Linked DNA regions of Homo sapiens: all the other regions are linked to region 3. Evidence: promoter capture Hi-C in human tissues and cell types (Jung and others, 2019). All regions are on one chromosome and are shown on one strand. Each heading gives the region's core, a stretch centred on a gene start or on the middle of the fragment in contact. The rest is flanking DNA. Distances are from core to core; before and after follow the strand shown. Region 1 overlaps PPP2R5A (protein phosphatase 2 regulatory subunit B'alpha). Region 2 overlaps LINC02608 (long intergenic non-protein coding RNA 2608). Region 3 holds the start of NENF (neudesin neurotrophic factor).

What was found. The method cuts DNA at HindIII sites, captures the fragments that hold promoters and counts their contacts. A contact is called where the count stands out against the background at its distance.
Region 1: a contact is called between a fragment that was not itself captured here and the fragment with the promoter of NENF in region 3, in 3 of the 25 tissues and cell types used here (IMR-90 fibroblasts, hippocampus and lymphoblastoid cells).
Region 2: a fragment that was not itself captured here is called in contact with the fragment with the promoter of NENF in region 3 in 5 of the 25 tissues and cell types used here (IMR-90 fibroblasts, adrenal gland, aorta and 2 more).

Annotation. Positions count from the first base shown.
Region 1 is chr1:212,294,185-212,296,952 of GRCh38, reverse strand. The region is part of intron 1 of PPP2R5A (protein phosphatase 2 regulatory subunit B'alpha); the gene reads right to left. Among named protein-coding and RNA genes, the nearest start is that of PPP2R5A, 10 kb to the right of the region's middle. The HindIII fragment of the contact is 9,503 bases long and covers 1-2,768 here.
Region 2 is chr1:212,276,769-212,279,477 of GRCh38, reverse strand. The region is part of intron 1 of LINC02608 (long intergenic non-protein coding RNA 2608); the gene reads left to right. Among named protein-coding and RNA genes, the nearest start is that of LINC02608, 6.9 kb to the left of the region's middle. The HindIII fragment of the contact is 7,141 bases long and covers 1-2,709 here.
Region 3 is chr1:212,431,616-212,434,417 of GRCh38, reverse strand. NENF (neudesin neurotrophic factor) reads right to left here and starts at 1,498. Exons shown (of 4, transcript NM_013349.5): 1 at 1,298-1,498. The coding sequence starts at 1,474. LOC105372906 (a long non-coding RNA gene) reads left to right here and starts at 1,601. Exons shown (of 3, transcript XR_922577.4): 1 at 1,601-1,793; 2 at 2,574-2,677. RefSeq lists an enhancer at 903-992 and a silencer at 1,153-1,712. The HindIII fragment of the contact is 24,294 bases long and covers 1-2,802 here.

The sequences.
Region 1 (2,768 bases), core at 230-2,729, 140 kb after region 3:
ATCAGCAACCAACTGAGAAGAGCAAGTCATACATGACCGGCATAAGAATGTAACCTACCTAGGTTTTGGTTTCTTCACCTATAAAATGCTAACCAGTTTAGTGTTGCAGGTAAACATTACTCAGTTATAAATCACCCTAAAATTGTAAATTATTGTATGATATAAATGATGTTTTTCTTTCAATCAATTTAATAGCTTTTGCTTCATTCTTTCATTCAATAAATATAAAACAGCATTGACTATCTAAATCCTGTGTAGGAAAATATGGTCTTGGGTCTCAAAGCACTTATAGTCTAAAGACAAAAAGCAGGCACTTTAACCTTATTCAGGCAACTTGTCCCGGCATATTTTGTGCTCTCCTTCATGCACATAACAATGACATCTTATCATGCAGTGTACACAGAAGATGTTCTATAGAGTAGGGAATAGATAATCCCAATTTGGCCAGGAGACTAAGTGGCCAGCAACCCAAACTATCAATGTCTTCTTATAAGCAAATCTGAAAGTCTTGGCAGGCCAGTAAAGGTTAATGTAAAGAATACAGTTAATGTTTAGAAGACATTAGTAAAGAATATAGTTAATGTATAGAAATTAACAAATGGGCACTCTTTGATTCACATATGCAGTGATCTATTTGATATTTATAACTGGGTTTCTAAATGGCATCTCAAATTTAAAATTTCCAAAATACAACTCTGGATTTTCCCTCTATACCTGATTCCCCCTCCAGTGTACTCCTTTCTCGGTGGTGGGACACATTCCTATCCACCCAGGTGTCCAAGCTAAAGCACGTGAGAGTCATCCTTGACTCCTACACCTCTGCCTTTCCATCTCCTCCCAAACAATTCATTAACAAGGTCCTATCTAAGATATATCTCAAATGCATCTTCTTCTCTCCATCTTGGGCTACTACCCAGGCCCAAGTCACATAAAGTCTTACCTGGCTTATTAATCTCCTAACTTGTCCTCCTAAAAATCTTCTTCTGCTACAATGCATTCTCTACCCAGTAGCTATAGTAATTTTTAACTGCCAAACTTTCTGAAAGAGTTGTCCATACTTACTCACTCAGCTTTTACAATTTCTACTCATTATCCACCTTACACAAATCTCATTTCACATTATCAGTCCTCCAAACGCCTCTCAAGTCACCAATGTTGCCTAAAGACTAACCCACGGAAACTTTTCAGTTCTTACTTGACTTGTCCACAGTTATCCACTGTTACTACTTTCCCCACCCATCCCCCAGTTTTTAAAGACTCTCTTCCCCTGACAGCCTTGTCTCCACTCTCTCCTGTCTTCTTTGGCCTCCACTCCAGCTGTCTCTCTTGGCTCTTGGTTGTACCTTTTTCCCTTACCCATTATCTCAATGTTGGTATTCCTTGGAGTCTTCTCATTCTATCCATTTTCAGTGGGCAGTTGCTTCTACTTCCATTGCTCCAAATGCCACATGTAAGCCAAAGACTCTCAAATTATCTCTAGCACATTGCTCCATATCCAAATAATCCGCCTTCCTACTAGGCAGCTTCACTTCAATTTCCCATGGACACTTCGACCTGTCCAACAAAGAACCATTATCTTCTCCTCCCAAATCTAATGTCTTTTTTCCCTTTCAATAAACTGCTATCATACATCCAGTTGCCCAAGTTAGAAATGTATCATCGTTGATTGTTCCCTCTCACCAGATTTTGCCTATGATACCACCCCATCCCCACTTGGACAAGCACCTTTATCTCTTGTCTGGATTACTGTGTCAGTATCCTCACTAGTGTTACTCACTCTGATTTCCCAATACGTTCTTCATGTTACTGGCAGGTATGAATGCAATAAATTGCCTACATCCATTCTTCAACATAGCAACAAGATTACGCACTAGACCCTAAATGCTGTTCCACTTCTCTAGTGATACAGAATATACCACAGAGATATAGAATGTAACCTATATTCTAGATCACAGCTATGTAAACTGCTGGTAATTCCCAAAATATGCTATGCTCAATTACCTTTGGGTCTCCATATATTGTCTTTTGGGTGGACCTCTTAGCCCATCTATCTTGGCCTAACACCTTCTGGCCTTTTAGATGGCAGTTTACCTGTCACTTTCTCCAGGAAACTTTCCCTGATCACTCCCCTCCCCTACTAAAACGGGATTGAGTCCTTCACATACTCCCTTAACATTTTAGAGCTTATTCTTATCATGACACTGAACACATTAATTGCAACTGCCTGCTTACAAGTCTGTATTCACCAACTATAAACTCCTAAAGACATTAAATTTAAAAGAAAAAGCATTCATTGTTTTCACTTTACTAAGTTTTAATCTCTGCAGCGGTTCACCAAAATTTTATGCACTATGGAAAACCAAAGAAAGGAAAAGATTTCTGTACTAGATTTTTGAAAATAAAGTGTGTGTCTAATTTCACAGCAAACAAAATATTTTGCCACTGACCAATTTAAAGAAGAATGGTAGGGCACGTTTTTGTTGTTGTTTTTGTTTGTTTTAATAAAATTAGAAACATTCCTACAGAAGTTATGTCTTATTTTACTTTTAACTTCAATAGATATTTTTCTTCAGAAAAGCCTGTCTGAAAAGTTGTTTTAAAAATCTACCCAGTTTTGCTAATTAAAATTCAGGAGTTATAACAAAAACTGTCTCACCTTTTTCCCTTTTTCACTTTTATCAATTTAGAGGCAGGGGATTAACAATGAGTTCAAATAACCATTGACTTATGGTAATAGCTGTAATTATGGAATATCCTTGATACAATGT
Region 2 (2,709 bases), core at 31-2,530, 150 kb after region 3:
GGTTGCAGTAAGCCAAGATTGCACCATTGCACTCCAGCCTAAGCAACAAGAGTGAAACTCTGTCTCAAAAAAAAAAAAAAAAGGTCAACAGGTATATGAAAATGTACTTGATATCACTATCATCAGGGAAATGCAAATTAAAACCACTAGGAGATATCAGTTCACATCCATAAGGATAGCTATTACCAAAAAGACAATAGGCAACAAATGTTGGCGAGGGTGTAGAGAAAAGGGAACCCTAGTACACAATTGGTGGGAATGTAGATTGGTACAATTATTATGAAAAACAGCATGGAGTTCCTGAAGAAATTCAAAATAGAACTACCTCATGACCCAGCAATCCTTCTAGTGGATGTATATCCAAAGAATATGAAATACCACTGGTAAAGATATGTGCATTCCCAATGTTAAGTGCAGCATTATGCACAATAGGGAATACATGGAAACAACCTAAATGTCCATCAATAGACGAAAATATAAAGAAAATGGTATGTACGTGTGTGTGTATAATGGGATATTATTTATATATATAATATATATATACACATGCATTATATGCATTATACAGACACATTTTATATATATAATATATATATAATGGAATGTTATTCAGCCCTCTAAGAGGAGATCCTGCTATTTGCCACAACATGGATGGACCTAGAGGACATTATGCTAAATGAAATAAGCCAGATACAGAAAAATATTGCATGATCTCATTTATGTGTAGATTTTAAAAAAAAAAAAAAGGAGTTCAAATACACAGAGAATGAAACAGTGGGATGCAGTGAGGAAGAGGAAACAGGGAGGTGTAGGTCAAAGGATACAAAACAGCATGTATGTAAGATGAATAAGTTTAGAGATCTAATGTAGGAGGAAAGTTAATAAAAATTGTATTATATTAGGCGTTTTTTGTTAAATAAGTAGATCATAGCTGCTCTTGTCACAAAAAGGTAACTAAGTAAGAGGGTAGATCTATTAATCTGCTTTACTAGAGTAACCATTTTACTATCTACTTTTCTAGATCTTTTTAAAGAATTCTAATTCCATATTGTCTATCTGGCCATTTTGCAAGCACAAGAACATACTGATATGATTAGACATCATGATTTTCAATTGCTGCCATTTTTGCTTTTTAACTTTAAACTTCTTTTAGTTAAGCTTATTATGATTCACCTCATTTGTTGTGGGCTATTGTACAGGCTATTGTGTTGGTCAACCAGGAGCTTAGACTAGGCCAGTGGCAGTAGAGATGGCTAGACTGGAGATTTATTTTGGACGAGGAGTATATAGGATTTGCAGATAGACTGAATGTGGGCTGTTGATACAGCAGAGGTATTATTAATCCCCGAAAACCTGCTCCTGTATTTATACTTTCTGATTATCACTGAATCATCTTTCCATAACTATGAAATCTTTTGCCCCATCTAAATGGGCTGTAATCATAAATGTTCAATAGCCCCTTGTCTACCCATTTCTTTACCTGTATAGATGAGGAACCAGGACATAGTTTGAAGGGGCTCAACTCATGCCAATATACCCTTGCCCTTGCAGAGTGGGACGAAAGAACCTGATGTTAGCAAACTCTCCACACTTTAATTCAACCCTGCAAACACTTTCCAAGTGCCTTCTGTTTGTCAGGCAATATGCCAGTCACTAGGAATGAAGAGGTAGATAAGGATGGGCCTTAAAATCAATCTAGTGAGGAGGGACAACATAAACAAATGAACAAACAATTATCAGAAATATTTTTTATGGTGTGGCAAAACAGTGAAATATAGGATCTAATTTGGTTTGGAAAGAAAGAGAAAATTTAACAGAAAAAGTAATGTTTGAAACCAGTCTTGAAACAAAACAAAGGCCAGGCATAGTGGCTCTTACCTGTAATCCCAGCACTTTGGGAGGCCAAGGCATGCAGATCACCTGAGGTCAGGAGTTCGAGACCAGCCTGACCAACATGGTAAAACCCGTCTCTGCTAAAAATATAAAAATTATCCGGGCGTGGTGGCATGTGCCTGTAATCCCAGCTACTTGGGAGGCTGAGACAGGAGAATCGCTTGAACCCGGGAGGCGGAGGTTGCAGTGAGCCGAGATCACGCCATTGCACTTCAGCCTGGGCAACAAGAGCAAAACTCCATCTCAAAAAAAAAAAAAAGAAAAGAAAAGAAACAAAACAAAATTATCATATGGAGAAGACCAAAAAAAGAAGAAAAATGCCTGCCATTCAGAAATTAGCTTACCACATTTCTCCATCACTATGAAGATTTCTGTATCTCAATGAATTTACTTATTCCACACAACTATTACCAAAAAGTAAAATTTCATTGCAAGAGGAGAATATATTATGCCACACCTTGTATCAGAATTTGACCTGGAAGTGGATGAGCAAAGAAAAAGTAGAGATTAACTTCAACACATAACTGTCCTCTGGGTATATCATAAAAAGCAATGATTGCAAAAGTACTATATGGTTCCTTCATGTTCCTCTACTATGCATATTTTATGTAAATATATAAGTGGTCTTCTGCTTTCATCCATCTGAAGACAAAAAAAAAAAGGAAATCATTCCAAGCAGTAGGAATATAACTTATAAGGTGCAGAACCCTGAGAGAAGGGGCTACATCTGGAAACCAAAGGAATTTGGTATAAGCTTTCTTCGGTGGGCAGAAGCTGCATCTATTGAGGAGGGCAGAGTGGGTCATGAAGGGCTTT
Region 3 (2,802 bases), core at 249-2,748:
CCACACCATCTGTATATACGGCCTAGGCAAGTGAGTCCACCGTTATTGGGTAGGGAAGGGTGAGAAATCCAGACACTAGACAAGTCCCACCCTTGCAAGTAGGCTTTTCTAAGGAGAGCAGGCCTGCCATGTTAATTCTTTTCTGCACGGATGCCTGGACTCTGAACCATCTGGTTCCCTCTGCTACCGGCAAAAAGGCATCCCTTAACATCCTCACATCCCAGCCATGTCTCCCTCCCTCGGTGTCCTCACTGACTCATGGTTCTAAATGGCCCCTTCACAAATGATGCCCAAACTGGCATCACTGACTAAGGGCCAGGTTTCTGATACCCCCATGCAATCCTAGTCCATATAAGGCCAATTAACTCAGGAATTAGCGAGACCAGGCCAGAGGGTTTTGAAAAACATCAGGCCTCTTCCTGCTCTACCACTAACAGGTGGCAGGCCTCAGTTTCCTTATGTGTAAAAGCAGGAGATGGGTTCCTGCCAGCTCTGAAATACTATGGTACTATGACCTCCCCCCAATGCCGTTCCCCCGCTCCACATCTAATATCAGCCCCCTGTTGGTCCTTGTCGTGCGGCTCCAGTCCCAACCAACCCAGGTGGGCAGGTGGTTGTGAGTTTTCTGGACGCCTCTAGACTATTGACGTGTGTGGGTGTGTGTGGGCGGGGGGGTCTCTATTGACGTGTGGCGGGGGGGTTGTGGGGGTCTCTAACCTCCAGTCCACCCTCTGCGCTCACTTCCAGCTTTGGCTGAGCCCCAGGGGTACATGACCTAAAAGTGGGTTTGAGGAGTCCGATGCAGAGGCCTGGGATACAGGGGCAGGAAAAGGAAGTGCAGGCAAAGACTGGCTTATCCCAGGACCTGTCTCAATTCCCACCTAACCCAGGGAGCAGGCTCTGCTTCCCTCCCTCCGTCCCCCGCCACTCCCCACTATGCGTGGGCACAGTAAACGCCTCGGCTGATGCTAACATGAAAACCAAAAAGTTCTGAGGTCTGTACGCAGATCATCAACGAAAAGGCGGCTAGAGGGGAAATCTCCCGGGGACCGAGGGAGAAGTTCAGGGTGGGGTGTGCGGGCAAAGCGGAGCGCTCCGACTGTTGAGGACTCGTCCTCACCCCTCGGCCATCCTTCGGGGCCTAGAGAGAGGAGGCCCCCCGCCGGCCCAGGGCGCCCGCCGCGGGCCGCGCGTCCCCCAGAGCTTCCTGGGCCGCCGGCGCCTCCTGGGTCCCCGCTCGGCTCGCCGCAGATCGGACGCCACCCCGGGTCCCTCGGCCCGCGACACCCCCGCCTACCTCCTCCCCGCCATAGCGGGCCAGCTCCTCCTCGGTGAAAAGCCGCACTGGGGGCCCCCGCTCGGCAGGGCGCGGTGTCTGCCCGGCCCGGGCTGTGGGCAGCCCCGGGGCCAGCGCCAGGACCAGGGCCAGCGCTGCCAGCGGCCGCAGCCGCCGCCGCGGCGCGGGGCCCACCATGGTGAGCGCGCAGCGCAAGGCAAGGCCGGGCCAGGGCGGCGGGGCCCTAGCACGCCCGCCCAGCGTCCCGGAGTCCCGCCCCGCGCCCAGAGCCTCCCCGAGGGCGGGGACCCGAGAACTCCCGCCCTTCGCGCGCCTCCTGCGCCCCGGGGTGGGGCTGGCCGGGCTACTCGGGCCACGCAGCTGGAACCTGGAAATTAGGATTGGAATCCTGAACTCCTAAATCCAAACTACAGACTGGAAGTTACCAAAAAATGTCACAGTGGTTCCTTGATCAGGTAGAAAGATGACAGAGCCCAACATACCAGAACCTAGAAAGGTATATTTCTAAAATAAGACCCCAACTGTCTTAATTCGCTTTTATTTTTGGCTGATTTTTTTTCTTCCTGGTTGTGTTTAAGTTTCTGGTTCCCAAGGAGATTTTTGCAAAGGGTAGGGTGCTGTTACCGATACGCCCTGAAATAATAATAGCTAACATTTGTGCCAAACTTTGCTCATTACTTTATGCAACAAATATTTTTGAGTACCTCCATGTACCAGGTCACTGGGGACTCACCACTGAACAAGACAGATCCACGCCCACGTGAAGCTTACATTGTGTGGGCAGATAGACAATAAGATGCTAAGTAGTATGTTAGATGGTGGTAAATACTAGGGAGAAAAAGTAGGGCAAAGAGATAGGGAGCACTGGGATGGACATTTTATTTTATTTTATTGTTATGTATTTATTTATTTTTGAGACGGAGTCTGTCGCCTACGCTGGAGTGCAGTGGCGCCATCTCGGCCCACTGCAACCTCCACCTTCCGGGTTCAAGTGATTCTCCTGCCTCAGCCACCAGAGTAGTTGGGATTACAGGCACCCACCACCACGCCTGGCTAATTTTTTTTTTTTTTAATTTTTAGTCGAGATGAGGTTTCACTATATGCTGGCCAGGCTGGTCTCGAACTCCTGGCCTCAAGTGAACCATCCACCTCATCCACCCAAAGTGCTGGGATTACAGGTGTGAGGAACGGTGCCCGGTTATGGGGATGGTCATTTTAAATAGGCAGGTTAGGGAAGGCCTCACTGAGAACAGGGTATTTGCATAAAAATCTACAGGAGGCGAAGGAGGCGGTCTAGAGGGAAGAGCACTTTGGTCAAAGGATCAGGTGCATAAATGCGGAGGAATGAGGATGCCCGGCTTGCTGGAGGATCAAGGGAAGGTAAGAGGGGTAGGTGAAGTCAGGAAGGAAGCGGGTAAGGGAGTGGGGGTGGATCTTGGGGGCTTCACAGGTTATTTTCAAGACTGGCTTTTACTTTCAAGACTGGAATAGAGGAATTAACAGAA